Linked DNA regions of Homo sapiens: regions 1, 2, 3 and 5 are each linked to region 4. The links are contacts of gene promoters, found by promoter capture Hi-C in blood cells and fetal thymus (Javierre and others, 2016). All regions are on one chromosome and are shown on one strand. The core of a region is centred on a gene start or on the middle of the fragment in contact, and the rest is flanking DNA. Distances in the headings are between cores, read along the strand shown.

Evidence for each region. The method cuts DNA at HindIII sites, captures the fragments that hold promoters and counts their contacts. A CHiCAGO score of 5 or more calls a contact.
Region 1: the fragment with the promoter of USP34 here is called in contact with the fragment with the promoter of PPP4R3B in region 4 in 1 of 17 cell types (monocytes); the score reaches 6.1 in monocytes.
Region 2: a contact is called between the fragment with the promoter of PAPOLG here and the fragment with the promoter of PPP4R3B in region 4, in 1 of 17 cell types (activated CD4 T cells). The highest score is 7.4, in activated CD4 T cells.
Region 3: a contact is called between a fragment that was not itself captured here and the fragment with the promoter of PPP4R3B in region 4, in 1 of 17 cell types (monocytes). The highest score is 5.9, in monocytes.
Region 5: a contact is called between a fragment that was not itself captured here and the fragment with the promoter of PPP4R3B in region 4, in 2 of 17 cell types (monocytes and fetal thymus). The highest score is 5.9, in monocytes.

What each region holds. Positions count from the first base shown.
Region 1 is chr2:61,468,334-61,472,647 of GRCh38, forward strand. It overlaps USP34 (ubiquitin specific peptidase 34), which reads right to left and starts at 2,754. Exons shown (of 80, transcript NM_014709.4): 1 at 2,317-2,754. The coding sequence starts at 2,359. It overlaps USP34-DT (USP34 divergent transcript), which reads left to right and starts at 2,763. Exons shown (of 3, transcript NR_185882.1): 1 at 2,763-3,046. RefSeq lists silencers at 2,076-2,495, 2,586-2,665, 2,696-3,005. The HindIII fragment of the contact is 6,929 bases long and covers 1-3,633 here.
Region 2 is chr2:60,754,910-60,759,010 of GRCh38, forward strand. PAPOLG (poly(A) polymerase gamma) reads left to right here and starts at 1,359. Exons shown (of 22, transcript NM_022894.4): 1 at 1,359-1,586. The coding sequence starts at 1,570. RefSeq lists an enhancer at 1,275-1,584. The HindIII fragment of the contact is 3,911 bases long and covers 912-4,101 here.
Region 3 is chr2:61,187,079-61,191,362 of GRCh38, forward strand. It overlaps USP34 (ubiquitin specific peptidase 34), which reads right to left. Exons shown (of 80, transcript NM_014709.4): 77 at 3,440-3,580; 78 at 3,193-3,336; 79 at 1,832-1,991; 80 at 385-1,631. The coding sequence ends at 1,024. It also overlaps the pseudogene AHSA2P. Among named protein-coding and RNA genes, the nearest start is that of C2orf74-AS1, 11 kb to the left of the region's middle. The HindIII fragment of the contact is 2,357 bases long and covers 1,195-3,551 here.
Region 4 is chr2:55,615,089-55,619,101 of GRCh38, forward strand. It overlaps PPP4R3B (protein phosphatase 4 regulatory subunit 3B), which reads right to left and starts at 2,534. Exons shown (of 17, transcript NM_001122964.3): 1 at 2,056-2,534; 2 at 363-418. The coding sequence starts at 2,197. PPP4R3B-DT (PPP4R3B divergent transcript) reads left to right here and starts at 2,842. Exons shown (of 3, transcript NR_186624.1): 1 at 2,842-3,294. RefSeq lists enhancers at 1,490-2,416, 2,417-3,341, 2,435-2,834, 2,855-2,904. The HindIII fragment of the contact is 10,945 bases long and covers 284-4,013 here.
Region 5 is chr2:61,529,930-61,533,947 of GRCh38, forward strand. It overlaps XPO1 (exportin 1), which reads right to left. Exons shown (of 25, transcript NM_003400.4): 2 at 3,843-3,974. The coding sequence starts at 3,968. Among named protein-coding and RNA genes, the nearest start is that of XPO1, 6.4 kb to the right of the region's middle. The HindIII fragment of the contact is 980 bases long and covers 848-1,827 here.

The DNA of each region.
Region 1 (4,314 bases), core at 1,504-4,003, 5.9 Mb after region 4:
CCACCACGCTCAGCTAATTTTGTATTTTGAGTAGAGACGGGGTTTCTCCATGTTAGTCAGGCTGGTCTTGAACTCCCAACCTCAGGTGATCCGCCAACCTTGGCCTCGCAAAGTGTTGGGATTACAGGCGTGAGCCACTGCGCCTGGCCGTAAATTTTTTTAAAAAGGAAGCATCACTGTGAGATTATTGTTTAAGAGTTAAACTTTTAAATTGAGCCTCAAAGGCAATATTAAGAAACTAAGTATTTTTAGAGTCCACTGGCTTACACACAAATAGAAAATCCTTACTTGTTCATTAGAACAGGTTTCTTAGAGGGTGCACATGACCAGATTTTGAGAAGCTGGTTGAACTAACTGTATTTGCTTAAAGGTAATAAAAGCTAAATTCTATTTCAATTCTCCACATTTCTAACACTCCATAAATGCACTGCATTTTTCAGTGCTTCTAACCAAAGTTCTAGGGGTTTCCCAGATAATCTTAAATAAGACCTTTCATTATGATCAAGATGCCACCTCTTTTCAAAAGATAAACCAACTTTACTTTCTTTAGATGTTTTGTTTAAAATTTTCCAAGTTTAAGATATTTTAAAATCAGCCAGGCGCAGTGGCTCACGCCTGTAATCCCAGCACTTTGGGAGGCCGAGGCAGGCGGATCACAAGGTCAGGAGCTCAAGACCAGCCTGACCAACATGGTGAAACCCCGTCTCTACCAAAAATACAAAAATCAGCCGGGCATGGTGTGGGGAACCTACATTTCCAGCTACTTGGGAGGCTGAGGCAGGAGAATCGCTTGAACCTGGGAGGCAGAGTTTGCAGTGAGCCGAGATCATGCCATTGCCCTCCAGCTTGGGCAACAAGAGCAAAACTCTGTCTCAAGAAAAAAAAAAGATATTTAAAATCACCAACAAAATTAAGTACTTGTTCCTCATATTACATTGCAAAACGATTAACTTTCCAAGTTGAGCGTAACAATCATAATCACACGACTTGTATGTGAGATATAAAACACAGTAAGTATTGAGGATTTAAGTTTATCATATCGTAAACCGCCTGCGCCAGAAATAAAAGTATCTCAAAATACACACAAATAATCTTAAAATTCTAGGATAATTTAGGGTGACACAAATACTGGAACCTCTAGTTGGAATATGTGCAAAAGCCTATTCCACCTATCAGGAAGTAAATACGGAGTTGAAATTAAGTTAGAACCCTTCCACTTTTATTATTGTCTTTGGTCATTAAAGTGACAGTCAAACACAAATACCATGGTACATTTTATAAATCAACTGTTTTAGCGAATTGTATTACAAAATTAGATAGTCTGAAAGTCTGTGGAAATATCACAAACAGAATACAAATCCAAAACCCACATAAACTGTTCATAAGTGAGCATTTTTTCAACAATCAACTTTTTGTAAATTGATCCCTTCATCTAATTCACCTCTGCCAACTAGGCCTTTACGCCCAGAAGTAGTTGATTTGCAATATATCTTCTATAAGCTGAAATACCATCTTGCAAGGGTCGAGAATAAAATAAAAAGGCCAGAAAAGATCAACGTACCCTTTTTAATAATAAAAAGTAAAGTACCAGGTAAAAGGCCTTTCCTTCCAAGAGAGATAGGCCATAACTATCCCGGGATGGTATGTGTAGTACAGTGCTCTGCTTAACAGAATGTACCATTAAAGCGGTGAATGCTACACTAAGAAACATCATTAACAAATTTATTTTAAAAATAGGTATGAAGGTTCCAATCATCACTATCACAGTTCGTTTTCAGCTATTTAAGGTCTGGCTGAAGTGTTTAAGACACCCACAAACCCGCAAGGGAGGGAAAAACCACCACCCTGCTCCCGGGAGTTTAATGAAAATTAGCAGGTAAGAGAGGCCTCGGCAGCACGCTGGAAATCAAAGAGGGCGGCCGGAGGATTTGGACTGCGGAGGAAAGCCTCGTCCTCCGACCCCACCTCCCCGCACCTTCCCGGCAGGGCGAAGGAGGCGAAGGCGGCGAGGGGTTCATTACTGCCTTCATTAATTGACACCTGTAATGAGGAAACTTTCCGAGAGCCCAGAGCGCCCGGGCCAGGCCGAGCCGGAGCTCCGCGGCGGCCGCCTCTCGGGCGCCCAGGTAACCCGGCCGGGCTGGGCCCGAGGCGCCGCGGCGGCCGCGCCACCGCGCACCTTCCCGGGGCGCTAGGCCCGCACGCCGCCCGGCCCGGCCGTCGCCTCCCGCAGGCCGCGGCAGCCCGGGGAGGCCAGAGAGCTGCGCGAGGACCCCAAACCGTGCACCCCGACAGGCCGCTACCGCGGCTACTTACTTTCATTTAACACCTCCACCAGGTCTGCGCAGTTCTCGCACATCGTTCGGCCGCCGCCCCCCCCCTCCCCCGCTTCGGATCACACTGACTGATCCCGACCGGCGGGGGGGAGGGGAGAGAGGCGGAGGAGGGGGCCGGCCGGCCGGCGGGGCGGGGAGGCGACTAGGGCGGGCGGCGGCGGGGACGGGGCGGGGAGCAAGAGAATGGGGGAGGGGGCCGGCGGTCCCCGCAGCGGGAGGGGGAGAGGAGGGGAGCGAGGGGAGGTGCGCAGGCCGGAGGGGCGCCGAGGCGCCGGCGGCGGGGAAGGGGGGGAAGGACGGGGGGAGGGGAGAGGGGGGGAGGGGGCGGGTGGGGAGAGAAGCAGCAGAGTCACTTCACCGACCAGACGCCGCGGCCACCGCCGACGCCGCCGCCATTTTAACAGAGCGCTCGGGCTGCGCTCGGCTCTTTCCGCCCGGGCTTAGGAGCGGACGAGAGGCGCCTCGCGCTCTCATTCCTCCGCCTCCCTCCCTTTCTCGCCTCTCCTCCGCCCCCCACCTCTCCCTCCGCACACACGCCGCACGCTCCACACCCCGCCGTGGCCGGCTCGCCGCCCTCCCTTTCCTCTTCCGTCCGGCCTCCCCGCCCTCGGTCCACCCCCTCCGCGCGCTCGCCCACCCCGCCCAGCCCGGATCTCTGTCAGCGGCCGGAAGGGAAACGCGAAGCCAGCGCGGCCGCGGGGGGAGTCCGGGTGAGTAGGAGAAGATGGCGGAGGCAACGGACGGGTCGCGGTTGCGTGGCGTCGCCCACCACGACCCACTCCACGGGCTCTGAGGCCCGGGGAGCGCCAGGTCACTCGCTCCGTCCTGTCCCCCGCCCCTGGGCTTCGCCATTTTTCCCCAGGGCCTGGGTCGGGGAGTTGGTGCGGGTTTCTTTGGTGTCCCCGGCCTCTTCCGCGCTTAGGCTTTTGGGGTACGGGAAGCAAGGAGTCAACTTGGGTGCCGGGCCGGGTCTACGCCGTAGCCCTCTTTCGGGCGCAAGGGCCACTCCCCCCGGGGTCTGAGAGTGAATCAGCCCAGGGCCCGGCTTAACTGCATCGGTGATTATCGCTACCCTGCAGTTCCTTGAAGGTCCTCCGTCCTGGAGCAGTAAGATCCTTGACGTAACTAGAAATGGCAGGGTAAGGAGTGTTTGCCTGACATCGTCTCGTTTTTACGGAAGAGGGCCCCTCACGATGTGCCCATCAGCCCCACCTGAAATAGCAAGAAATCTTCTTCAGCAGAGAGCGAATAACAAGGATATTAAGATAAAGAACAGGTGAAGGGGGCAGTCAGCTGAAGCTTGTAAGGGAATTTTCCTCACGCCGGCACTTACCCCTTGCTTGCTAATTTTTGTGTTCAACGTGTTTACATAGACATGTGACTGCAAAGTCCGAAAGATCGTGTACAGAATCTCTGAACGGTAACCAGAGTGTCTGTCAAGGCTCTGTAGTCATTCTCTCGATAGCTTTTGTGGAGGTTATGGCACGCCCATCTCTCCATGCCAGAACCACCTGGTTCCAAATGCTTTGCCTTTCTGCTGCTTGAAGTTGATACTATAAACAGTCTGCCCAACCCGTTTTGTTTCCCACTAGCAGGTGATCCTTAGGATTGTAGTTCTATTCTACCATCATCTTCCCTTCTTCCTTGTCTTTCTCACAGAATTGGGTTTTTGCAGACTTACTTTGGATCCTGAGGCAGACATTCGTTGTCCACTCAACATACATTCCCACGTATCCCTTTTTTCCCTGCCAACACAACCCCAATTATTTTTATTTGAATTTTTTTTTTTTGAGACAAAGTCTCACTCTGTCGCCAAGGTTAGAGTGCAGTGGTGCGATCACAGTTCACTACAGCCTCCACTTTATGGGCTCAAGGGATCCTCCCACTTCCCTAGTAGCTGGGGCTACAGGCGCTCTCCACCACACGTAACTAATTGTTTTTTATTTTTAGTAGGGACAGGGTCTTGCTATGTTACCCA
Region 2 (4,101 bases), core at 109-2,608, 5.1 Mb after region 4:
CCCGCCTCAGCCTCCCAAAATGTTAGGATTACAGGTGTGATCCACCACACCAGGCCACGTCAGGTTTTTGTTGTTGCTTTTAAGTAGAGATGGGTTTTTGCCATGTTGGCCAGGCTGGTCTTAATAGAACTCATGGCCTCAAGTGATCCACCAGCCTTGGCGTCACAAAGCACTGGGATTGCAGGCAAGAGCCACTGCACCTTGCTCAGGTTTTCAAAAATATGTTTTGTAGTTTTTATTTATTTATTTATTTATTTATTTTTTTGAGACAGGGTCTCCTTCTATCACTCTGGCTGGAATGCAGTGGTGCCATCCTGGTTTCCTGCAGCCTCCACGTCCTGGACTCAAAGAGATCCTCCCACCCCAGCCTCCTGAGTAGCTGGGACTACAGGCATGGGCCACCATGCCCAGCTAATTTTTTTAAAACTTTTTGTAGTGACAGGGTCTCACTATGTTGCCCAGGCTGTTCTCGAACTCCTGGCCTCAAGCAATTCTCCCACCTTGGCCTCCCAAAGTGCTGGGATTACAGGTGTGAGCCACTGTATCTTGCCTCAATAAATATTTTTTAATGAATTAATCAGCAAGTAATCTCCTCTATTTACTGTGACTCTGAGTTATGTTCAAGAGCAAGCAGTTCTTGACTTCCTTTTCTTTGTAATGATTTAGTGCTTGAAATTACTTCTACCTTTCAGCATTTTAAAATTGGTTATTATTTTCTCATTTTCATCCCCACACTCACATCGAACATGATTTCCACTATTTAAAAGTGTAAGATTTTTGTTTCAGCCTGGGATTTATCCTATTGCAAACTGCTAGCTACTATTTTCAACCTCTGTCAGCTAAATGCCAGAATGTCACTAATCAAAGGTGGTACTTAGGGGTGAAGTGAACAGTTAAGCCTCCAATTTACAAGCTTGTTTTTCCCTGGGATACTTGTGTGAAAGTCGTATGTTCCTGGGTGTGACCCTTTCGAGACAAAATCTCAACTGGTGAGTTAATTATGTATAACTATAATTAAATCAAAGATGTAGGATAACGGAGGCGTTGAAATAGTTTTTGCTAGGCAAGGGTGTGACCTTTTTAAAAAATGTATGATATATGCTGCCATTCGAGAGGCAAGGAAAACATATCTCCAAATTTCCTTCCAAGCGGTCTACCGGCATTGACAGTACCGCGGACAAAGGAGAGTACCAAATAAATACTCCTTCGAACCAACGGTATACTGAGAGCCCTGAGCTTGTGGGCGGGGCCCCGGAGCCTCCCGGGACCTAAAGGCAGAGGGGGCGTGGCTGAGGGTGGTCCAGACCTCCAGGGGCGGGGCTGAGACCTGCGAGAGGCAGGCTGGGAAGCGGCGCCATATTGGCGTCGGCCGCGCTGTATTGTCATAAATAGAGCCGGTTTTGTGGTGTTTTCACTACTCGGTTGGATGCCTCAGCCATAGTAAGTGGGAAAGTGAGCGAGCAAGCGAGCTACTAGCGACCGGAGGAAAGTGAACAGGGGGAGAAGGGAACAGCAAGAACAGGACTCCAGAGCGATAAACACTCGCTGGAGAGGGAGACGCAGGAAGCGATGAAAGAGATGTCTGCGTAAGTGGTGGGGGGCGGCGGTTGGGGTGAGGCGGGTAGGGGTGAGCTGAGGTGGTCCGACTGTGTCCTTGTTTCCGTTCCCTGTCCCTTGCGCCCTGCACGCAGCTCGCCGGGATGGTCTCCTTCCCGGCTCCCGGCCGGTCCGCAAGGGCACCTCCCCTAAACCCGGCGGCTCACCTGGCCACCCCTGCACGGACTCGGGGACTCCGGGAGTCCCCAGCTGTCCCGCCTCCGAGGACGCCCTCAGAAAAGGATGAGGAGGGAAAGAGGTGCCTGTGTCCGTAGGGAGAAATTGTCGGTCACTCGCCTGCCCCCAGCACTGTCTGAGCCCGTCTGCTCCTGTCTGCATTGGCGCAAATACCATCCCCCTGCCTCCCCCTCCTCCCTTCCCGACCGGCTGTCTCCAGGTCTTCAGGAGTGAAAGACCTATCGCAGCCCAAGGGTTTCTCTTTCATATGAGGCTACAGTCTTTTCACCGCCGTCCCCACCCTCTCCCTCACCCCCTGCTTCCCCACCTACCCACAACATCTACCGGTCTGTACCTCTTGTTCACACTTTGATAAGTCAGAAACAGTTCCCGTACTTGGCAAGATTTTGTTGTAGCTTCTTCCATTTTGGTCTATTAGGAAATAATTTAAACATGCAGAAAAATGTAGAGAATAACATAAGCATCATTTGTGGAGCCACCACCCATTTCTCCCAAAACGTAACTGTACACACATACACGTACATGCACACACGCACACACACGGTGTGTATATACGTATCTGTGTATTTATTTTAAAAAGAAATCAAGCATTCCAGATACATCTGAAGGACTCTCCTACCTCCTTCTCTGGTCCCAATCATCTCTTGCTCCAGATGTCTCCACAGTCTTGAATTTGATGTTTATCGTTGCTGCCTGTTTTTTATTTTACTTCTTTTTTTTCCGCCCTCGAATCATGGGAGCTGCATGTTTTTTAATGCTATTACTACATACACATGTGTTCATAATAACTGGCATAGTTCTAGTTGTTTTTAAACTTTATATAACTCGTATCACACTTGGAATTCTGTAACTTCTTTAGCACAACATAGTATCTCTGAGCTTTGTTCATGTTAGTATTTTAGTTGTAATTAATTAATATTAATTATTGTATTGTATTCTATTGTAGGAAAACACCCTAATTTAATTCTTTTCCTGTTAGTGACTATTTTATTTCTAAGTTTTTAATGTTACAATGTGACAGTGAACGTTCTTTTAGGTGTCTCTTTGTACGCTTGTAACTAGAATTTCTCTAGGTTGTTTGCCTGTAAGTGAAATTGATGGTTTGAAGGGAATGTGGGATTCTGTTGTTTACTTTCCCCTCCCCTCTAGATGGGGGAAGTTCAGAACCTGGATTTGGAATTTTAGGGCCAGTAGGCTAGTTGGCCAACTTTGTCAGCATACAGGTAAAAAAGTGAGGCCCGTCATCATGGTGTCAGAGCTGAAGTAGTTAGAGAGGAGAGAATGGAGTAGTGGAAAGAGGTTTTGGAGTTCAGATTCTGGCTTGTCCTCTCTTTGACTTTCAGGTACTTATCTGTAAAATGGCACTTATTCAATACCCCTTAGGATTATTGCGATTGAGTGATACTATATAGATATGTAGATAATTACTCTGTCCTATTCACTTACCGTATATATTTACATATGTATTACACAAACAATACCAAAACACTGCTCTAGCTTTCTCAGAGGTAAAAAGCCAAATCTTTAAAAAGAAATTACCACTTGAAATAACTAATTGAAGTTTTGTTTGTTCTACAACAAAATAAATACAGAAGATAAATTAACCAGTATTTTGGTTTCTGGGGTTTTTTTTTTTTTTTTTTTTTTTGAGTCATTTTGGAAGGTATACAGGCTATTTTATCTTCCATTTGATTCTTTCTCCCTCTCTGCCTAATGAGATTTTTTTTTTTTTTTTTTTTTTGAGACGGAGTTTCGCTCTTGTTGCCCAGGCTGGAGTGTGGTGGCGCGATCTTGGTTCACTGCAACCTTCGTCTCCTGGGTTCAAGCGAATCTCCTGCCTCAGCCTCCCGAGTAGCCGGGATTACAGACGTCCGCCACCATGCCCAGCTAATTTTTTGTATTTTCAGTAGAGACGGGGTTTCACCATGTTGGCCAGGCTGATCTTGAACTTCTGACCTCAAGTAATCCACCTGCCTTGGCCTCCCAGAGTACTGGGATTACAGGCATGAGGCACCACGCCCGGCCTCTAATGAGATCTTTAGCTATTACAGCGTGTCTTACTCTGTGTACTTAGTAGTGGTAAGACAGTGTTTTGACCAGTTAGAATCCAAAAACAATTAAACAATCTCTATTGTATGTTATTTTTTACAGGGCTAATTTATTCAACTTGAAAGATTGTTTCTAATTTTGAGATTACATTCTTACTCTTGGTGTTAATGGCCCTTCATGGAAGCATGGTGAAGATAAATGGTAGTGTTGGTCGTTTAGTGTGTATGTTTTTACTTTCATAGCAAAATTAGAAGTTTT
Region 3 (4,284 bases), core at 1,123-3,622, 5.6 Mb after region 4:
TATAGCAAGCTTGCTTGCAGCTGTACTTTTAGTTCAAGATGACAAAAAATAAATGGCATGTTGACACTATTCCTTTATTTTACTTTAGGGTTTTTAAGGTGTGTAGATCTTAGGTCGTAAAACAGTGGTATATTGCATTCAAAAGCATGTTGAGGTGAGGGCAAATTGGCTGTGTTTTGCTCCACATCTCCCTGCACATCTCCCTGCTGTGGTTTTGCACTTCGGTGTGGAGAGGATTGAGAAGTCTGTGGGGACACATTAGTTCTGTGGACTGCTGGTAACACTTCCAGTGAAACAGCATATAATGGATAAATGTTTCCCCCCTCTTTCACGGTTTTCTCACTACTTTCACCTGAGAAGACTGAAGCAACGTATGTAAACAAATGAAAAGTCATCACAATCAGTTTAATTAAGTGCACAGAATAGCAATCAATCAATCAGTCATGTCAATAAAAATAAAACAATTATTTTTACATCAAGTGTGCTTTATTTCCTCCACAGGTATTCTGTTAAATAAAGCACCATTTATATACTGCCAGGCCACAGCTAAAGAGGATTCTTTACAGAATCAAATTTCTTGTGGTTGTTCCGTATACAAGTAAACTTAATTTTGATAATAAGAACCACAGCGATCGGAGGCAATCTGCCTCTATAAGGTACAAAACTGGCACAGAGGACACCATATCATACACAGTAAAAATGCTGTAAGTTTAAATTACATTGTACAGGGCTAGGCAACCCTGTTCTTCCCAGACAGCCATATTAAATGAAAGCCACTAAAGTGAACTCTTAATTACATAAAACATATCCATTATCTGATTGCCCTTTAGGAAGTATACTGAAGATGCAAGTTTTTTTCATCTGGAGTTCTGCCTGACCAAGAATTAAGCCTATAAATCTATCTTGCCATTCAAGCAGAGAGCACTGGACAAACTGAAGCACAAAAACAAATAAGCAAAACTTATACAAACAGCATGGGGGTTGGGGGTGAGGGACTTAAAAGTAGACATGCTACACCTAATGTCAAGAAGCAGCTTGGTTTCCTTTGCCAGATATCCTTGTGACGACATGGATTGTAGATTCAATGGTCCTACACAGGGTATCTAAAATGTCATGTTGCTGCATATGACTAAAGAGTCCTCTGGAATGGCCACAACTGAGAGATAAAGCAACCTCAGGGTCCTGGGAGGGCAAAGCTTGGCCATCACAGCTTCTCAAGTCAGCTAAGTCAGACAGAACTGCAGAGATAGAAGTAGAAGGGAACTCAGATTCTTCCTCAGCTAGGGTAGAATCCTTGGAACAGTGGAGGTCTTTAAATTCTTTACAATCGTCATATCTACCATTGTTGGACTGTTCTTCTGCATGCTGTGACCTGATATTTGACATGTCTTCTGAAAACGAAGATGGAACTTCCATTCGGTATTCTTTAACAGAACTATTTTCAGGGGAAGGAAGATCTTGCTCAGTTCCTGGATCAATAATTGAGGAGTCTCTGGTCTCATTGTCAGAAGTGCTCGTTGGGGTCAGGACCTCCCTGGTTTCTGTTTTCATGTCACTGATGCAGCTGTCTACAGTGTGCTCCTCATCACTGCTAACACGCCGCCTTTTAATGGGAGTTGCTCCTTCATCATCTGTGAAAACACATGCCAAAAGGGAAACTTCTCTGAAAGTCATTAAGATCACGTTAGGGGGGGATGTGGGAAGTTAATTTTGTTTCTAGCATTTATATTTAGGAGGTTCAGCTGAACACACAACTCTTAAACCAGTTACACCAAGTGTATTACTCCCTCCTCCCACCCTAAAGGTAATGATAGTAGTCCATAAAGCTAACCTTTAGTTTTTCTTTCTTTGGCTTCTTGCTCTTGGAGTGAGTTTCTCTGTTGCAGACAAGTCCTGCATTTGCTTAAAAGCTCTTGCAGAGTTGGAATTAGAGCTGGGTTTAACTGTTTGGGAGTGTGTACTGACAGGAGCAAAGCGAGTGCCCTCAGGTCCTACAAAAACCCAGATAGGAACATTTCAAATTCTAAAGCCAACACTTTGATGCAGTTGTTTACAGTTAATTGCAGATGTTTATTTTCCCAGGAATCCATTCTTTCCTAAGAATACCCTGGTTTCTCTGGGATTCTTAGAATGATAAAACCAGAAAGCCAGTGTTAAGATACTACAGCATTTCATTAGTTGTTTTTTTTTTTTGTTTTGTTTTTGTTTTTTTTGAGATGGAGTCTTGTTCTTTGGCAAGGCTGGAGTGCAGTGGTGTAATCTCGGCTCGCTGCAACCTCCACCACCCGGGTTCAAGCGATTCCCCTCCCTCAGCCTCCCAAGTAGCTGGGACTACAGGCGCCCGCCACCACGCCTGGCTTAATTTTTTCTATTTTAGTAGAGACAGGGTTTCACCATGTTGGCCATTGAGATGGTCTCAATCTCCTGACCTCGTTATCCACCGGCCTCGACCTCCCAAAATGCTTGGATTGCAGGCATGAGCCACCGTGCCCAGCCTCATTAGTTCTTAAAGTCACTAATAGCATTATTTTATGCCCACGAACCAGTAAGTCAGACCAAAGCCTGAAATAGTGTTTTCTGAAAAATGGAAAAGGAAATATAAGAATTTTAAAAACAAACCTTGAAATCAGTTTCTCAAGTTAAAATTCTGATGGATGTCACAAATAGTAAGGTCTTCCTTACTGAGCTCTGTCATCTGTTTTGGCTTTTATGCATACTGTGATTTGGGAGGCTGCTGCTCAACATTCTAGCCCATTTCCAGAGTGTTCCATTATTCTAGGACATGGCTGTCATGGGAGTCTGCACAAGGCAACTAATGCTCTAGATTTAACTGCCTTTTTTAAATCAGTAGATCATTAATTGTTTCAGTTACATAGGAGCCATAGGCAGTAATAGAAACATCACAAGTATTGTTTCCAAAAATATACCCAACTAGAGATAAGACCACTAAGATGTTCCCTTTATTACCTTTCAGCATTTAATGATACCAGCTTGTAGCTTCCAAGGTGATAGAGTGTGCTGTGTACATACAAGGCATAGTAAACGTGTATTTAAAACTTGTTTTTTTGTCGCACATGGCTTAAGAGTTTGAATCAGTAAGTTAAAGTTACGAGAGTAAAATCATATGAAGGCCACACAGTTAACTGAAGGACAGTTTAAAAGTGTGTGCCGCCGCCTCTGCATAGTTCTTACCCCATTTAAAGAAGCACTTGCTTTGGAAATTTCAACTCGGTTGGAGAAATCAGACTGTAGGTTCTGATACTGGCTTATCAAGTTTGTAATAAGAGTGCTGATCAAATTGGCACAGTTTGCTTCAGAAAACACTTGACTTTGAACCTGAAAAAGAAGATTTAAAAAAATCTCCAAAAGACCAGCATAATGAAACCACAAGCATTAACTAATTAGAAATGACACACTGAGTTTCCAAAGTACTACGTACCTTTAGAAGGAAATGTGTCATGAACGTGTAGACAATGTTGTTGTTTAAAAAAGTTCTTTCATCCATTAGGATACATTTAATATATTCTGCGAAAACAGGATCTTCACACAAAAGCTTGATGCAGTTTTTTGACATAGCAGACTAAAGTGGGGAGAAGATGGTTGAGCACTTACGGTTGAGCACGGAAAAAACTTACACGGAAAAAACTTACACAGAAAAAACATACACTTGTGTATGATGGAATCTGAAGCCACTGAAAATCCTACTTGAAAAGCCATGTCTAACTCACCTATTGAATTTTTAGTTAACAGCAACTATTTTTCATACAGTAAAATGTTACTAATTTAGATTAAGGGAGTGCTGGGGGAAGACACTGATGCCGAAACTGAACAAATGTTTTAAAAGAAATGCAGGTTTATTATCCAGCACTGAGAGAGTTAACAAGGACTGGAAAAATAAGGCTAACAAAGAATAGGATGTGAATGTTTTCAAGGGCCAAATTAATGTATTTATAGGTAACCAGAGCATATGTTGCAAAAAGACACATTTTAAGAATCAAAATCAATTCTCCAAAATGTTTTAAACTTTACTGTATATTCTCGCTAGCAACAGTAATTCTGTAAATACCTTTTCCCCCCATAAACACTGCAAGGGTAAACAATAAATCTTCTTTCCTAATTATCTCACACAGAATCAGTGGTCTCAATATATGGAAATTTTACTAAAATTTGGTTTTCCTGTTTTCAAATAGTCATGGCTCTTAAACACAAGTAGTATGTCTTTAAGCAGATACACTCCATAGATTTAAATGTGCATTTTAATAATTTATATGGAAAAAAGCAATA
Region 4 (4,013 bases), core at 1,284-3,783:
AGGCTTTCCTTGCTTTAAGAGTATCCCTTTGAATTTTGTTCTATGTCATTTCCTTTAAACGTGACTCAGAATAAAAGGTTTCATGTACAAGGTATAGAAGAGACTTGGCTAACTACAGTTAAATAATACTAATAAATACATCTTAGAATAAACCGACAGTGGCTCAATCCAAAAATGATAATTATCACCAGTACAAAAACTTTTTTTCAGTCTGAAACTTTTAACCTGCAAGAGAAATACACATGATCTTTGTTTACCAAACATGTTTTTTTCTTGTCAGGAAAGCTTTCCCACCTTTGTCAGATTAATACTTCCTTGATCACAGATGAAGTCTTTCAAATTAAAGATAAACAACTACTTGCCTGTTGTTTCTGATATGCAGTATTTGGATTTATCTTTGATTCCAAGAGTAGTGATCCTGAAAGATAAAAAATAATACATCATAAGTCTCAAATGATAAAACCCTGAATAAAAATTAGAATACACATTAAAGCCGGGCGCAGTGGCTCACGTCTGTAATCCTAGCACTTTGGGAGGCGGGCAGATCACGAGGTCAAGAGATCCAGACCATTCCAGCCAACATGGTGAAACCGTCTCTACTAAAAATACAAAAATTAGCTGGGCGTGGTGGCGCATGCCTGTAGTCCCAGGTACACGGGAGGGTGGGGCAGGAGAATCGCTTGAGAGAGAGGGAGAGGAGGCAGAGGTTGCAGTAGCCCAGATCGCGCCATTGAACTCCAGCCTGGCAACAGAGCAAGACTCTGTCTCCAAAAAAAAAAAAAAAAAAAAAAAAATACACATTTAAACCCCGCCCCCCGCCCCCGCAAACTTTTCAAGTCTTTTTACCGAGTTGGACATCTTAATAAAATGTATTCGAATTCACATTTTCTCTCCAAATCTAGGCTTCACATTTAATCTAAAATATTTCACCCTATTCCCATACACCCTTAAAGGAAAAATTAATCTAAAACCAACAATCAAACCAAGGAATGAGGAGACTAGATGACTATTAAAATTTTATTGAAATAAAAATTTTAAGGTCTAAATGACCACTTCAAGCCATTCGTTTTAACAAAAGTTGTTTTATTGCATTCCCAGTTTAACAAATAATGCAAATTACAAAACAAAAACATCATGACAGGGATTAAATACTTAGTATAGAAATTACAGTGCTGCATTTATCCTTTCCTCATTAAGAACAAAAGAACACCTTCTGTAGAAGTGATGACTATTTAAAATAAAAGGGAACAAGCAAGAATACAAAATATGTCAAGACTAAACCTAAGATTATTTTTCTAACTGCCTATATCAGTTGTTCAAATCAAGTCCAGATTATACTATAAAAGGCATTTTAATTACGGCTCTACATTTTGTAATTTAAAATACTTCACATGACTACAATAAACCAAAGAACACAGCAGTTTACAACCTGCTTTGGTGTCCCAACTTGCTTAGATTGTAAGGCATTCACTTTCTCATAGCGCCTTCTACAAAGGCAGCCCGAAGAAATGCAGACTACAGATGTATGTGCTTGTGTGTCCATGTATCGTGGCAACAGTCAGCAATACAGCCAGGAAAACGTGCCTTTCGGTTTTCCCCAGCACCTGTCGACTGTGGCACCTGGGGCCCGTTGGTACAATTTTTTTTTTTTAAAAACACTCGGAAAGAAAAGTTTCCCTAAACCGTTTGTACTAGACGTATAATGGATAAGTAAATAAAGGGGGAGGAAGGTGTCAGCTCCTAGGGCGACATCAGTACCTAGTCTCTCACTACTTCCTCCCTTCTCTCTCACACTCTCCCCTCTTCAAAAGAGGAGGGACTGGAAAGGAAGGAGTCCAATCCTTAAGAGAGATGGGAGAAGGACAGAGAGTCTCGGTCTCCGAGGATAAGTCCAGTCAAAAGTACAGTACTTTGTTTTTGCCGTACACAAGAGCCAGTTCAGAACCAACGCGCTGTCCCGAAGGAGTAGCAACGGTAACGGGCCCAGGGCCCTAAACCCAAGCTGTGCCCCAACCAGAGGCACTATCCCCTATTCTACAGTTCCGATAACCTTACCGTCGGACTCTGCCCGAACCAGCAGCGACATCCCCTTGAGCTCCTCCACGTAAGTGGAGGAGACGTGCCCGGTGCCTCGGTCGTCCCATTGCCGGTCTTCGTTCAGGGTATAGACCTTCACTCGCCGCCGCGTATCCGACATGGTGGCTGCTGTCTCCACCGCTCTAGCCGCCGCCTCCTCGCTTACCTCGTCCGCGCTCCTCACTCTTAGGAGACGGTAAAGGCAGTAGTGGCGGTGGCGGCGGCGGCGGCTTCGGAGAGGCCCGAATTCACCATGGCTCCAAAGGTTCAGCCGCGAGAAGGGGTGACAAGAGCCACTGAGGCCTCTCCGCCCGGAGGCCCCGTTACCTCTCACTTCACCCGCGCATACACCCACTCTCCCGTCTCTTTGCCCCCCAGGGCTCGCTTGCTCTCCCGCCGCCGCGGTAACTACTACAGATCCGCCATCTTGTAACCCGACTCTCTCTGCCTTTCTCTTCCTCCTCCAGCAGGCTCGCACGGGCTGTCCTAGCAGGGGCTACGGCGGCCGACAAGTCCCATGAGCAGCACCTCCGCTTCTGCACGCGCTTCCCAGGCCGGAATGCTCGGCGCTCTCGCGAGGAGGGGTACCGACTGGGGCGGGAGTACTTCGGCGAGACTTCCTCCTCTTTCGGCCCGACTTCCTCCTCTTTCGGCCCCGCCTCTTGGCGCGGGGTCGCAATTGGGCGGGAGGTTCTCGCGATCTCCCCGTCCACGCCTGCGCCGCGAGAGGCCGCTAGGTGGAAGGGGACTTCGGTTCCGCACGTCGTCATGTTGTTGGATGGCACCAGTATGTGACGTTCCTAGGAACTTAGCTCTGAGGAAAAAACAAAGCAAACCGGGGAAGTACGTAGCCTTGAACCGGAGTAACCAGGGACAGAAAGGAAGGAAAAGGGTTTCATACCTTCACGGAACGACGCTCACTTCGTCCGCCTGAGGAGGAAAAATAAGTTTAAACCTTTCTGTGAAAAAGAACGTGGAGCCCTTTCTGCCGAATGGAAACCCGCTAAACCCCGTTATGGAGTCTGCTACAATTAAGCATCTAACCAGGAATTGTCTATGGACACAACTCTCCAGGCAATTCATGCAGAAAGTGTGTTGACGATTTCCTGTTTCTTGCAGAGCGCTTCACCGTTAAGGCTCTTAGTAGCTGGCGATTGTAAAGCACATTTTCCGCTTCATGAAAATACAGTGCTCTTCTTGTGTTTGTAACCTTGGAAAGTAAGTCTGCTATGATAAGTTTAGGGAAGTGGCGGGGAGCTACTTTCCTAACATATCTGTGATTGTTTTGATACTTCTCAGTTTCTCGCGGGCATTTCCTGCGTTCTCTATAGGGCTCTCTTGCACTGAATAAGGAAAGGAGGAATTCTCTCTGCATTGAGGCTATTATCGCACATTGTGCGGTGGATATAGTCACGCGCTGGGTCGTAGTAGCGTGTCGTTTATTTCAGTCCAGCTCACTCTTGGTAGAATCCCTTTATTCGTTTTGTTGTTTTTGATAGTCTCTCTCTGCTTCCCAGGCTAGAGTGCAATGGCGCTATCTCGACTCACTGTAGCCTCCGCCTTGAGGGCTCAAGCGATCCTCTCACCTCAGCCTCCCGAGTAGCTGGGACCGTAGACGCCTGCTCCCCATCCCCGCTATATTCGTTCTTTAATACAGTCTCTCAGCTTGTTCAGCTGCCACTTCTGTGCAGCTCATTAGCCTGATCGGTGAAAACTAGGCGAGACGCGCACACTGACCCTGCAGTGCATCTTGGGAGTTGTAGTCATAACTAATCAATGGTCTTGTTAAAACGTGCTTATGTTTTGACCAGATCGCTTAAGTGTGGACACCCTTCAGCAGTACACTACAACGTGGGTCAGTGTACAGAACACATGCTGATAGAAATAATTTCAAAATCTGGATTCATAGTTTTTTTTTTTAATCTAGAGACCTCAGA
Region 5 (4,018 bases), core at 88-2,587, 5.9 Mb after region 4:
TTTAAAATACAATCATACACATTTCTATTTGATTTCATTAAAGGACTGATGGGCATAATGTGTCATATGAGAAATGACAGAAGGCCGAAAGAATAATGATGTGGCTTATCTAGGGCCAAAGCACATTTTAGCAGTGTTTTGGTCTTCTCCCTGAGAATATCTAGCTAGATAACCTTATCTAACTAGAGGAAAAGTTGTATCAAAGATCCTCACACAGTAAAAGTTACTTGGTCAAGTTACCATTTTGTCAGATGCTTTGAAGTGATAAGCATTCTACACAGAATCAAATACTTCCCACACTATCACCACTCACATCAATCGCTACATAAATAATATTCTTTCCTGTTAGTTGTAATTTTACTCTCTGATGCTACTTCTAGTATTTGCATTCTGATTTATTCTAATCCCACCATTCTTACATAATGTTCTTTATAAACTTAAAACCCCAGCAGGGGTTTAAAAAAAAAAGACACAAAAGCAAACTAAAGAGAGAAAACCTAGCATCTCCCTTGTACTACTAACTGAATGGTGAAAGCATTTTAGTTGCTAAGCAATAGAGTTCAAGATCTTTAACAGAACACAATATTGGAGAAAACATCCAACTCTTCCCGCATCTTTTTTCTAGCTGTCTACTTGGCTAAAAATAGAAAAATGCTGATAACAGAGGGTAGAGGGTAGTCCTAATGTTACACTGCTAAATATCCTACTATACTAACCATGTATGCAGAAGTTCTGTCTACAGATTAAAAGTCACCCTTGTAAATAATTTCTTCCCCTCCCCCAAGTTACACATTCCTTTAAAAAAAAAAAAACCTACCTACAGCTTTTTTTCCCAGTTGACTTTAAAAGCTTAATTAGCATAATAAATTTTTCTTGTCATTAGTGCATATTTTATGAGTAGCAAAAAAAAAATTTTTTTAATTTTAAGCAATGAGTATCACATATGCTAAATCATTTTCATTATACTGCTAAATGTACCCTTTAAGCTGAGTGCCTTCTACCTATCAAGCACTGTAATAGGTGCTTTTAAACCTCATAACTAACCCTCCAATCTCTTGTAGGACAGGTCATATTTGTACATGGGACTTAAGCAATGACTAGAGAGAGCTTCCAAGAATCAAATTAAGACGTCTAACACTAAAAATCATGTTTTCCACTATAGCAGCTCGCTGCTACTACTACTCCTTTTCCTTTGAAATAAGACCCCCAAGGAGGTGGTAAACGAAAAGTAGACTGAACTAACGACATAGGACTTTTAGAGACCAAAAGGACTCCTTAACCAGCTTTAAGCTCTAAATCTTGTTTCTTCATTTATAATACAAAATAAGTTTGCTAGTTATTTCTACGCAACTGATTTTGTCACATGATCTATTAACTACTGCAGACAAAATCCTTTTACTTTGGGAAAGTTAACCTATTGTCCTTACAAACAAAAAAATTTAGAAACACTTTTCTTAATCTACTTTTTATTAACAAGTCAATTTTAAAACAAACCATTAAATTTCTTAATACTATGAAACATTATTAAAAGCAGTATTGCTGTAATATATTCTCAATTACAAAAATTGCCACTAATTCTGTTACAAGCCATGAAGAACACTGCTCTATGTTGGTTTATTTATCATACCTTTAGATGTAGTGAACTAGTTTAGTGTGAAGATTAAACAGTATTAGTAGCTGAATCTATGCGGAAAAAATTAAATGCCCTTTTTCCCAATGGCTACAGACCTGTGCTTCCAATATTACATTCAGAGTTGAACCCAACCTTACTTTCATAGCTTCCTCCAAAAGCAGCTGCTTTCTATGCATCCATGCTAGAAGAAATGAAGCTTAAAGCTTCATGTTGAATGTATAGCATGAGTAACAACTAAATGACAGGGATAATAAATACGGATGGTTAATTTTTTCAAGAATGCTTTAGGAGATAATATACTGATCAAAACGCCCTAAAAGTATAAACCTGGGCTAACAAGCTTACAGAATCACTGCAAGAGTAATTTTTTCTACTTTTAGCGTTTCCATGGACCTTTTTCAAGTTTCTACTATAGTAAAAGCAGTACTGTTGCATTTCATAAGGGAATGGAAACATTTATACATGATGCTTTTTGGACTACTATAAAAGATAGTACTGTATCCACCTTATATATTTTCAGAAAGTGTAATGGCACTCAGGTTTAGGTTTTTTTATTTTATTTTATTTATTTATTTTTATTTTTGAGACGAAGTCTCATGCCGTTGCCCAGGCTGGAGTGCAGTGGCGCAACCTCGGCTCACTGCAAGCTCCGCCTCCCGGGTTCACGCCATTCTCCTGCCTCAGCCTCCCGAGTAGCTGGGACTACAGGCGCCCGCCACCACGCCTGGCTAATTTTTTGTGTTTTTAGTAGAGACGGGGTTTCACCGTGTTAGCCAGGATGGTCTCGATCTCCTGACCTCGTCATCCGCCGGCGTCGGCCTCTCAAAGTGCTGGGATTACAGGCGTGAGCCACCGCGCCCGGCCGGCACTCAGTTTCTTAATTATGCAAATATAAATATCTTGACAATATAAGTAACCTCCCATCTACTAGCTGAACATTTATCTAACCAGAAATCTACTGTTCTGGCAACAAAACTACCATAAAAGATTTCTGGCCAGGCGCGGTGGCTCATGCCTGTCATCTCCACACTTTGGGAGGCCAAGGCAGGCGGATCACGAGGTCAGGAGATGGAGACCATCCTGGCCAATATGATGAAACCCATCTCTACTAAAATACAAAAAATTAGCTGGGCATGGTGGCGCGTCTGTAGTCCCAGCTACTCGGGAGGCTAAGGCAGGTGAATTGCTTGAAAACCTGGGAGGCAGAGGTTGCAGTGAGCCGAGACTGTGCCACTGCACTCAGGCCTGGTGACAGAGCAAGACTCCATCTGAAAAAAAAAAAAGATTTCTGACCCAACTGCAAAACTTTTTACTCATTCAAAAACATGTTTGGGCCAGCACGCGGTGGCTCATGCCTGTAATCCCAGCACTTTGGGAGGCCGAGTCAGGTGGATCACCTGAGGTCAGGAGTTCCAAGACCAGCCTGGCCAACACGGTGAAACCCCATCTCTACTAAAAATACAAAAATTAGCCAGGCATGGTGGCGTGTGCCTGTAATCCCAGCTACCAGGGAGGCTGAGGCAAGACAATCGCTTGAACCCAGGAGGCAGGGGTTGCAGTGAGCTGAGATAGCGCCACTGCACTCCTGCCTGGACCACAGAGCGAGACTGTCTCAAAAAAAAGTTTGGCCCCACAGGTAAAAAATCAAGTTTTTTTTCTTGTGACATATACAATTTAAAATTGTACACACATTTCTGTTTCACCTTTTAGTTGGGTTCAAAAAAACCAAAAATCTTAAACTGATCAAAATTTGGTTTATGTTTAAGATAATTCCCTACATTAACAGTACCACTTTGAAAAGTGCACAAAATTCAACTAACATAAAAATACTTGGTATTCCTGTTTTTATTTAAACAAACATATCTGTGAAGTACTTCTGTAAATGTTTTAAAAGTAGAAGAATCGTATTAGTGCCAAACATATTAAGTATATATAAAAGTACAGAGAACCTTTAATACCTACAAAGTATTTAATAACATTTGGCTCTTAAGGACAAAACAAGTATAATATTCCAAAACAACCCACTCTAACCATGTCAAACATGCAATTTCTTTCTCCAAACCAATTTTCATTATGGTTAATACAGAATTCCAAATTAATGCAAACTATGGAATATCTTTTTTAAAGGTGATAATTTAAAATTTTATTCTAAACCCAACAACTCTGTTACACTGTCATAATGTTATAAAGTTTTGGTTGGCTACTTTACCTGGGCTCCTTCTCCATGGTATAAGCAATTCACCACATTATCTAATAAGTTGATATCCAGTTTTTGGCTGAAATCAAGCAGCTGACGAGCTGCATGGTCTGCTAACATTGTCATAATTGCTGGCATAGATTACTGAAAATAAAGAAAAAAAATTGAAGCTGCCTATCAAGTTTTGG